3 separate regions of the Homo sapiens genome follow, and all the other regions are linked to region 2. Evidence: promoter capture Hi-C in 16 types of primary human blood cells and fetal thymus (Javierre and others, 2016). All regions are on one chromosome and are shown on one strand. Each heading gives the region's core, a stretch centred on a gene start or on the middle of the fragment in contact. The rest is flanking DNA. Distances are from core to core; before and after follow the strand shown. Region 1 has its middle 330 kb from the start of RPRM. Region 2 holds the start of RPRM (reprimo, TP53 dependent G2 arrest mediator homolog). Region 3 has its middle 310 kb from the start of RPRM.

Region 1 (3,508 bases), core at 468-2,967, 330 kb after region 2:
AAACTATAAAAACTCTGGAAGACAATCTAGGCAATACTATTCAGGACATAGGCACAGGCAAAGATTTCACGAATAGGATGCCAAAAGCAATTGCAACAAAAGTAAAAATTGACAAATGGGATCTAATTAAAGACTTCTGTACAGAAAAATAAGCTATCAATGGAAAAAACAACCTATAAAATGGGAAAATATTTTTGCAAACTATGGCACCCAACAAAGTCTAATATACAGCATCTATAAGGAACTTAAACAAATTTACAGGAACAAAACAAACAACCTCATTAAAAAGCAGGCAAAGGACATGAACACTTTTCAAAAGGAGATATGCATGTGGCCAAAAATCATATGAAAAAAGCTCAACATCACTGATCATTAGAGAAATGCAAATCAAAACCACAATGAGATATCATCTCATACCAGTCTGAATGGCTATTATAAGAAAGTCAACAACAGATGCTAGCAAGGTTATAGAGAAAAATGAACTCTTATACACCGTTGGTAGGAGTGTAAATTAGTTCAACCATTGTGGAAGGCAGTGTGGTGATTCCTCAAAAACCTGAAGATAGAAATGCCATTTGACTCAGCAATCCCATTACTGGGTATATACCTAAAGGAATATAAATCTTTTTATTATAAAGACACATGCACGTGTATGTTCATTGCAGCTCTATTCACAATAGCAAAGACAGGGTATCAACCTAAATGTCCATCAGTGATAGACTGGATAAAGAAAATGTGGTACATATACACCAAGGAATACTATGCAGCCATAAAAAGGAAGGAGATCATATCCTTTGCAGGAACATGGACGGAGCTGGAGGCCATTATCCTTAGCAAACTAACAAAGGAACAGAAAACCTAATACTACATGTCCTCACTTATCAGGGAGAGCTAAATGATGAGAACACATGGACACATAGAGGCACACACTAGGACCTTTTGGAGGGTGGAGGATGGGAAAAGAGAGAGGATCAGGATACTAATGGGTACTAGGTTTATCACCTCAGCAATGAAATAATCTGTACAACAAACACCCATGATACAAGTTTACCTATGTCACAAATCTACACATGTACCCTGAACTTAAAAAGAAAGAAATGAAAAAAAAAGAAAGTGTGTGGAATAAAGATCTTCCTTAATTAAGATTTCCCAAAAGAACCCTGATATTATCAGTTGAGTTCAATATTTTACCTGGCCATATCCAAGTGCACTACCACTACCACGGCCATCTCCCATTTATGATATTTCCCTGGGACAAAGTTGTTTTCCTTCATGAGATTTGCTAAATCAGCATTTTTAATCAAGAGGATAATGGTCCAATTACAGGGATATCAAAAGTCATTTCTAATAAGGAAAATAATGGAGAGCTCCATGTTACAGACTTCAGAATATGTAGCAAAGGGCAAGGTGTCAAATATCAGGGTTTAGTACTAGCTCTCCCCAGAAAGCAGATTTGATCTCCTGAATAGAAATAAGCTAGACCCGCTCCATTCAGACTACCAGAGTTGGCCAACATTTTATAGGTAAATTTTTTATTATTATTATACTTTAAGTTTTAGGGTACATGTGCACAATGTGCAGGTTAGTTACATATGTATACATGTGCCATGTTGGTGTGCTGCACCCAGTAACTCGTCATTTAACATTAGGTGTATCTCCAAATGTTATCCCTCCCACCTCCCCCCACCCCACAACAGGCCCCAGTGTGTGATGTTCCCCTTCCTGTGTCTATGTGTTCTCATTTTTCAATTCCCACCTATGAGTGAGAACATGTGGTGTTTGGTTTTTTGTCCTTGCGATAGTTTGCTGAGAATGATGGTTTCCAGCTTCATCCACATCCCTACAGAGGACATGAACTCATCATTTCTTATGGCTGCATAGTATTTCATGGTGTATATGTGCCACATTTTCTTAATCCAGTCTATCATTGTTGGACATTTGGGTTGATTCCAAGTCTTTGCTATTGTGAATAGTGCTCTAATAAACATACATGTGCATGTGTCTTTATAGCAGCATGATTTATAATCCTTTGGGTATATACCCAGTAATGGGATTGCTGGGTCAAATGGTATGTCTAGTTCTAGATCCCTGAGGAATCGCCACACTGACTTCCACAATGGCTGAACTAGTTTACAGTCCCACCAACAGTGTAAAAGTGTTCCTATTTCTCCACATCCTCTCCAGCACCTGTTGTTTCCTGATTTTCAATGATTGCCATTCTAACTGGTGTAAGATGGTATCTCATTGTGGTTTTGATTTGCATTTCTCTGATGGCCAGTGATGATTAGCATTTTTTCATGTGTCTTTTGGCTGCAAAAAATCCAACTTACAAGGGACATGAAGGACCTCCTCAAGGAGAACTACAAACCACTGCTCAAGGAAATAAAAGGGGATACAAACAAATGGAAGAACATTCCATGCTCTTGGGTAGGAAGAATCAATATCATGAAAATGGCCATACTGCCCAAGGTAATTTAGAGATTCAATGCCATCCCCATCAAGCTACCAATGACTTTCTTCACAGAATTGGAAAAAACTAAAGTTCATATGGAACCAAAAAAGAGCCCGCATTGCCAAGTCAATCCTAAGCCAAAAGAACAAAGCTGGAGGCATCATGCTACCTGACTTCAAACTACACTACAAGGCTACAGTAACTAAAATAGCATGGTACTGATACCAAAACAGAGATATAAACCAATGGAACAGAACAGAGCCCTCAGAAATAATGCCGCATATCTACAACCATCTGATCTTTGACAAACCTGACAAAAACAAGAAATGGGGAAGCAATTCCCTATTTAATAAATGGTGCTGGGAAAACTGGCTAGCCATATGTAGAAAGCTGAAACTGGATCCCTTCCTTACACATTATACAAAAATTAATTCAGGATGGATTAAAGACTTAAACATTAGACCTAAAACCATAAAAACCCTAGAAGAAAACCTAGGCAATGCCATTCAGGACACAGGCATGGGCAAGGACTTCATGTCTAAAACACCAAAGCAATGGCAACAAAAGCCAAAATTGACAAATGGGATCTAATTAAACTAAAGAGCTTCTGCACAGCAAAAGAAACTACCATCAGAGTGAACAGGCAACCTACAGAATGGGAGAAAATTGTTGCAATCTACTCAACTGACAAAGGGCTAATACCCAGAATCTACAATGAACTCCAACAAATTTACAAGAAAAAAAACAAACAACCCCATCAAAAAGTGGGTGAAGGATATGAACAGACACTTCTCAAAAGAGGACATTTATAGGTGCATTTTAATGGAACTAATGTATCATAAATTTCTTCTTCCATTAAGCCTATCCCTGACATCAAAGGTGTTGAATCATATAAGTCAAATAATATAGTACATCAGGACTTTCCTTTCAAGTTATTTGAAGAAAAAGAGAACTAATTCAATACAGTTTGGTTTTTCTTCCATAGACATGCTGATTAGAGTGAAGCCGACAAGAGATCATGGATGACACAGAGACAGAGGAGATATTACTCCATGA
Region 2 (3,438 bases), core at 674-3,173:
ATTTGTTGTAATTTTTTCCATGTATACATTACGTTTTATTATTCTTGAGGACTACCCACATTAACTAAGATAGACTGATTGTATGATGAGATTTAAGTAAATTCTTACTTATCAATTATTAATAAATTTCTTCAAAGAAGAAATTGCCGAGAGTGAGGTATTTTTCAATTCTAATTAAATTATGGGAAACTAGAACAATAAGCCAGTGAATTGTGGTAGAAGCCCAAGCCTGAATTTTCAGCTGTTAAACATCCCCCTCAAAATAATAATAGCTATTTTAAAAAATCAAACTTATTGCAGCTGATATACCATAAATATCAAAAAATTGAAAACTCAACCAGAAGGCATTTCATTCTATTTTATGATAGTCATGAAGCAGTGCAAAAACATTTAAGGAACACTCTGAAGATGGAATAAATGATGTTTTAAGAAACAGAAATAAGAGGATTTACCAAGCAAACAGAATGAAATTAAGAGTAGAGTTGAAAATGGCAAGACAGCTACTATTTTTCAGTTTTATTTTATTTTTAATTGACAACTGTACATATTTATGAGGTACAAAGTGATATTTTGATACACATATACATGTGGAATGATCAAATCAGAGTAATTAGCGTACCCATTATCTCAAATTTTTATCAGTTCTTTGTGGTGAGAACATTTAATAGAAAGTAAATGTATTCTATTGGAAGCTCAAGTTACTGGTTTCCAGCTGTTACAGCTGAAAGAAAGAGGGAGGAAGGCAGGGAGTAATGGGGAAAAGGAGGGAGGGGAAAGAAAACAGAAAAGGGGGAGCGGGAACATGCAATATTCTTTCAGAGTTAAGAAACTTAATCTGACAGGTTTATAGAATTTCGTTGGAACCTAGAGCAAAATCACAATGGCTGAAGCGTCAATCAGGCCTATAAAAACATCTGTGTTTAGTTTAAATGACTAAGGGTGAAATACATCAGCTTATGGAAAATGGGGAGGGCTCCCAGTATTTGGCCAGCGTTCTAGGTGATGGATGTTGATGAGCAATTCCCTTCAACAACTGATTTACTGCCAACGGACAAAATGCTGGAAGCACATCCAAAAACTTATCTGCAATTAAAATTACAAGCAAGTGGTCACTCTGTTCACCTCCTTTACCAGAGAGGTGACCCTGCTCCCGGCAACTACCTCCACCCAAGGGCCACAGAAGAACTCCTCCTTCCTCTAACCCTCTTTCCTTGGCCTCAAACCTCACGGTAAAACCTGCCTTGCTCTGTCTCCCAATCGCTTTTGTAAAGGAAGCTGGGTGTAGAGCTCTTCTTTCTCCCTCCCTTCCTTTTTTCTTTCCTTCCTTCCTTTCTTCCTTCCTTCTTCCATGCCTTTCTGTCTTTCCAAATTCATTGCTTTGTAAGAAACATTCTCAGATCACCTCCACTCCACTAGAAATCCAACGCAGGCGAGTCGGAGTCAAGCACAGGCAGTGGGCGGGTGGCCTCAGCCGGCACCATCTGGCACCTGCGATTCATCGCCACTTTCCATTCGCCCAGAGGTCAGGGGGGCAGCAGGCAAAGGACACGCAGAGCTCGTGTGTCCCAGTTCCTCTGAAACTTTCAGCTGACCGCACCCTCCCCCGACAAACTCTTTAATCATCCATCAAGCTAGAAGAGTACAGTGACCTCTGCCTGGCCTTTGGAGTTTGCAAAAGAAGCAAGCAATAAAAAGCAAGACCAGGTTCGCCCCTTTGCTTCCTCCACCTCCCAAGAGCAGCGCGCAGCGCGGCGGTGCGGCCGGAAGGGGCCGCTGTTTGCTCAGCGCAGCCACCCCGCCGCTGCAGCCGCCGCGGCCCGCACCTCCCACGGCCGGGCTGGTCCAGCCCCGCCAAGTTCCAACAGCCCCCCCTCGAGCGAGCGCCGGGAACGAGCACCACCAGGGCTGGAGCGGACGGCTTTAGAAGAGCCTAGCTGCTGCGCGCGTCGGAGAGGCTCCTGGGAAACTCCCACGGCCCAGGGACTTTCGAAAGCAGAGCGAGGAGCCCTCGCACGCGCTAGTCTGCGAGTGAGCGCTCAGCCCGGCACCTGTTCCTCCAGCGCCGCCGCCTTCCCACCCCTCGGACCCGCGCCGCTCGCGGCGCCCGCCCGTTCCTGCGATGAATCCGGCCCTAGGCAACCAGACGGACGTGGCGGGCCTGTTCCTGGCCAACAGCAGCGAGGCGCTGGAGCGAGCCGTGCGCTGCTGCACCCAGGCGTCCGTGGTGACCGACGACGGCTTCGCGGAGGGAGGCCCGGACGAGCGTAGCCTGTACATAATGCGCGTGGTGCAGATCGCGGTCATGTGCGTGCTCTCACTCACCGTGGTCTTCGGCATCTTCTTCCTCGGCTGCAATCTGCTCATCAAGTCCGAGGGCATGATCAACTTCCTCGTGAAGGACCGGAGGCCGTCTAAGGAGGTGGAGGCGGTGGTCGTGGGGCCCTACTGACCCGCCCTCTGCCCCCGCGGCAACCGCTCCCACGCCTGCCCACTTTGCTAGCCCGGCTGTGCCCCTCACTATCAGAGACTGGGCGAAGCAAACCTGTCGGAGTCAATTATTTCTCTCGACTTCGGCCTTTCGGAAAGAAGCGACCGGTTTCTCCCTCGCCCTCTGAAAGTCCTCATGCCTGGCAGTCGGAGGAGAGCGCCCAGACTCTGAACTCAGCAGAAAGTGGCAAGAAGAGGGCGATTAGGGCGCAGAACTTTGGAAGCTGCTACTTACTTGGAATGCGGGGAGACCGACGGTGCGAAGGCCCTTCTCCACCCGCAGGTGGGCCAAGCTCTGGGGGCAGGTGGAGAGGGCGGGCAGGGGAGAGACCCAGCGGCACTGATCGCCTTGTGACCGGAAGAGTGACCTGTTAAAAGCCACGCAGCAGACTCATGGGGTCTCACAAATCCGTGTCCGGGTGCGCTCCCACTCTTCTCCTGCTCCCCCCCTGCCCTGGAGGGGAGGGGCGATAAATACCTTTGATTGTAACGTGCCGTTTTAAGAGGTTTTGTGTTTGTTTGCTTGAATACAAATGTTTGATAAGTCTTTTTCTGCCCCAGTGGCCTGTTTGCCTGCCTGAGGAGTTACAGTTTTGTCATTGTGGGAGAAGGGGTGGGGGGAGGGGGAGCCTGCGAATTTGAACGGGGTGAGTTGTTTCTTTTAGTGCATTTCCCACTGGGTCTTTTGGGAGGCGTCTAGCGTTCCTGCTGGCCCTGGGACAAAGACCCAGAATAGAACTCGTAGCTCGTGACTGCACGGTTTACGCCACAAAAGTGCTCTTGACATCCGTGACACCGTTTTGACTTTTTGTTTTTTTCTTATTTAACATTTCCTTAATAAATGCAACATTTAAGCGTTTTGTTCCTGGCCTCCTGGTGGTCATTCTGCGCTCCCCAGCAGGGGGGAACGGGGCGGCGGTGAGGAGTCTGGCTCCCGGCCAGGGCAATTAA
Region 3 (3,402 bases), core at 781-3,280, 310 kb after region 2:
ATATAATGACAGAGGCAGGGATTAGATTGATGCAGCTGCAAGCCAAGGAATGATATCCTCATCTCAAAACTATGTCCCCCTCCCAGACCCTGAATGAATCCTAACTTGATTTCGGTAGACCCAGACAAATAGTTTGATATCATGTCACTCTCACCCATAGGCTCAACAAGGACAGAGCATCCCAGGGGTGACCATTCCTCTGATCTCTGCCTCACAACTCACCTCAGGGTAACCAGTCTTCTGCCCAAGCTAAAGCACCCAACACACCCCCATCGGTAAGAATACACTTCTACTCTGCTTTTCCAAAGAGAAAAGTACAGTCATATGGTTTATGTCTAAGTAGTCTATTTAGCCCAATTGCTGTTTGGAATTATATAGATATAGATATAGACATAGATATAGATATAGATATATATTACAAGATATATACATATATCTTGTAATGTTCACAGTATGCCTAGTATACAAGTTACTAGTATACAAGTCATTATTCTCATTCCCTGGAGGAGATATCCGAAGCACATGAAGCTTAAATAATCTGCCTTAGACATTCAGTTAGTAAACAATGGAGCCAAAATTAAAACCAAGGACTGCCTGCAAAAGTGTCAAAGTACAAAGAAAATGAATAATGTTTGTTTTAGATCATCTCTTAGGGATGTTCAGTCTTTTTCAGTTTTTCAGATTACCTTACCCTCTCTTTCATCTTACCAAGGTATTATCTGAATCTGTAAGGTCATTTGCTGGATCCTTTGTTGGCATGGGAAGAAAAAGTCTCCTATTTGTACCACGTGATTTTGTGCCACTCTTCTAGCCCTTAATGAAAAACATTTCTTTGTTTGCCCAGGTACTAGTGACCCTGCTGGCTATCAACTGGCTAAGGATGGCAGGGCATTGTTGGTACCTGCCCAAGAGCCCTAGCTCATGACCTGTTCTCCTCCACCTTGGTCAGGGCCTAGTGGTATTGTCTACTGGCCTGGACCCACCTCAGCTCTCAGTGGTGCTTTAAATCCCCTTAGGGTTGGCAGTGAATCCTAAGTAGTCTGTCCAAAAGTCCTTTAATACAGAGTCTCTTCATCCCTGCAATCACTATGTTTTCTGGCAAGCTCCCCACCCTAACTCCCAGCTAACATTCTATCTCTCTACTTCAAGAGAAGCCTGGGATTTGGCATTTCTATCTCCACTGTATGAAAAACGAAGGTGGCTTACAGGAGCTACACCAAGGCTCCCTCTATGCATGCACCATCCCTCTAACACTAATACAGTCTCCCACAGGTAGATATAGGACTCTTTACAATAAAATACTAGGCTAGGATATCAAATATAGATTGGTACAAGAGATGTGCTGCTTTATATTCCCATCCATATGTCTTTGTCTCTCCTCTAGGACTTCAGTCAATCCGAAGTGGTTCACTTCTCATCTCTGCCTCTTTCTTCCCAAATGTCCTGCACTAGAATGGTATGCTCCCCACTCCTTTCAACATGAACCCCATCATGTTATAACCTTCTTCTACCTGTGCAAATGATTACCATGTCTCCTCCTATTAATGATGGAAGGGCTATCTTTTCTGTGTTATGGAAGAAAGTAATCTACATGGTCAGTCCTGGCTTTTAATGTTAATAGACAATTATCAGCTGAAATAGTTTCAGCTATAATTAACAGAAAATAACTCAATTTGGCTTAAATAGTACAGAAACAGCATTATCTGATATGGTTATTCCCAAGATAAGGCCATTTTAGGTTTTTATATTTAGTGCTCAGCTGTGTCATAAAACACAGTTTTCTTACTTCTTTCTGCCTTGCCATCCTTAGCCAGGTTACAGCCAGATTCTAGGTGTCACAGGCAGACACAATAATATCTAGCAAAAGAAAATAACAGCTTTTTCCTCTTCAGGTTTGGGAAGGATTGTTGGTAAACTTCTCTAATGAAGTATAATATATTTCATTAGAAATTCACCAACATATAAGAGTTACTGTTGTCCCACATTCTTGTCAACACTTGTCACTTTTTTTTTGTTAGCCATTCTAGTGAGTACCTTGATATTGGTGGAGTTGTTTTTGCATTTCTAAATAATAATTATTTAATGTTAATTAGTTTAATATAGTGCTTCCTCTGTAATAATTTTATGTCACATGCTTTTTAAAACTAATGCTCACTATCTAATGATGTAACCATTTACTCAATTCATGCACTCAATTAGTTGCCAAAACAATATTCCAGTAACTTTTTATAGCAAGGAAAGCCTTGATCAGAAGCATTTACAGCTTCTCACTTCTCAGATGTGCATCACGTGCCTATACATAAACTGGTTTTTGGCAAAGGCAACGAGACGACCATAATTGGCTTAGACCACTCATGATTCAGCCCCAGGCTGATACAGGAGTATATCTCCCTTAAGGTGCACTACCAGTGGGGTAACCGAATTGAATCAGAGTTTTGTTAGAAAAAAGAAGGAAAAGTTACTGTTACTGAGTAGACAAACAAAAGTGTACACTAAAATGCTGATGGAATTTTAAAAAATAATTTCATCTCTTGATAAAGTCTAGCTTTCATAATTATTTTATCTATTCAGAACCTTACTTTGTTAATCAAAAGCTAAATAACTGCTATATTAGACAAATGGATGAATCAGAATAACTAGTCAGAAAATCATATACATGGAGATGCAAATGAGAAATGTATTTCAAAAGCAACTTCCTCACTGACTTAAAATCAGTCTGTCATCAAAACATTATGGGCTATAGTCTGAATTTCAAATAAGGTAACATTTGTTAGATAATGTTAACTTCATTTGTTTCAGTTGGCTAATGACCAACATGTATTTGGAAGTCAGAAAGCCTGTGTTTAGCCATACAATGCATCATTTGGCTACTAGCAGTGATATTTGGCTTGCAATGAGACACTATTTTTTCTTCTGTGTGACACTTCGGTGCTTAGCCAGCTGCTTAAGTTAATTATAAATTTTGCTATCTATTGTCAGAAATCACCTGTTCCAGACTTTGGCTATAACACATGTTTACATATCCATATATACATTTCTTCTTATAATTACTTTAGGTTCAAAGAAAGATAAAATCCCTCAAGTCTGAGGTTGAATCTTCCTCATTTCCCTAATAAACAAAATTGCTTAAATCTTAACAAGATGTGGCTTTCTTTGGATAAAATTTGTTATTAAAAAAAACAATTAGCTTAAAAGAATCTTTCTCTGATATATTATTATATCAACCAAATAAACATCTTCATGTGTAGAAAAATATGAGATGAAAATATTTAAGGAACGTATTAGGTTTATTTTGTTACCTCTATTGTTTGCTAAAAAGATTCTAATTTGACCTTGCTATGATCATATAGTCTACAAAAACATATTCTTAAGATTTAAGACTGTAACCGTAATTTTCATTAA

Evidence for each region. Contacts are between HindIII fragments. The CHiCAGO score rates a contact against its expected background, and 5 or more counts as called.
Region 1: a contact is called between a fragment that was not itself captured here and the fragment with the promoter of RPRM in region 2, in 1 of 17 cell types (naive CD8 T cells). The highest score is 6.6, in naive CD8 T cells.
Region 3: a fragment that was not itself captured here is called in contact with the fragment with the promoter of RPRM in region 2 in 1 of 17 cell types (naive CD8 T cells); the score reaches 5.7 in naive CD8 T cells.

Annotation. Positions count from the first base shown.
Region 1 is chr2:153,150,013-153,153,520 of GRCh38, reverse strand. It overlaps a transcript of GALNT13 not described here. Among named protein-coding and RNA genes, the nearest start is that of RPRM, 330 kb to the left of the region's middle. The HindIII fragment of the contact is 5,651 bases long and covers 1-3,508 here.
Region 2 is chr2:153,477,247-153,480,684 of GRCh38, reverse strand. It overlaps RPRM (reprimo, TP53 dependent G2 arrest mediator homolog), which reads left to right and starts at 1,923. Exons shown (of 1, transcript NM_019845.3): 1 at 1,923-3,347. The coding sequence starts at 2,120. The coding sequence ends at 2,449. It also overlaps a transcript of GALNT13 not described here. RefSeq lists a silencer at 1,689-1,888 and enhancers at 2,245-2,748, 2,749-3,252, 3,253-3,438. The HindIII fragment of the contact is 6,762 bases long and covers 1-3,438 here.
Region 3 is chr2:153,170,089-153,173,490 of GRCh38, reverse strand. It overlaps a transcript of GALNT13 not described here. Among named protein-coding and RNA genes, the nearest start is that of RPRM, 310 kb to the left of the region's middle. The HindIII fragment of the contact is 3,000 bases long and covers 531-3,402 here.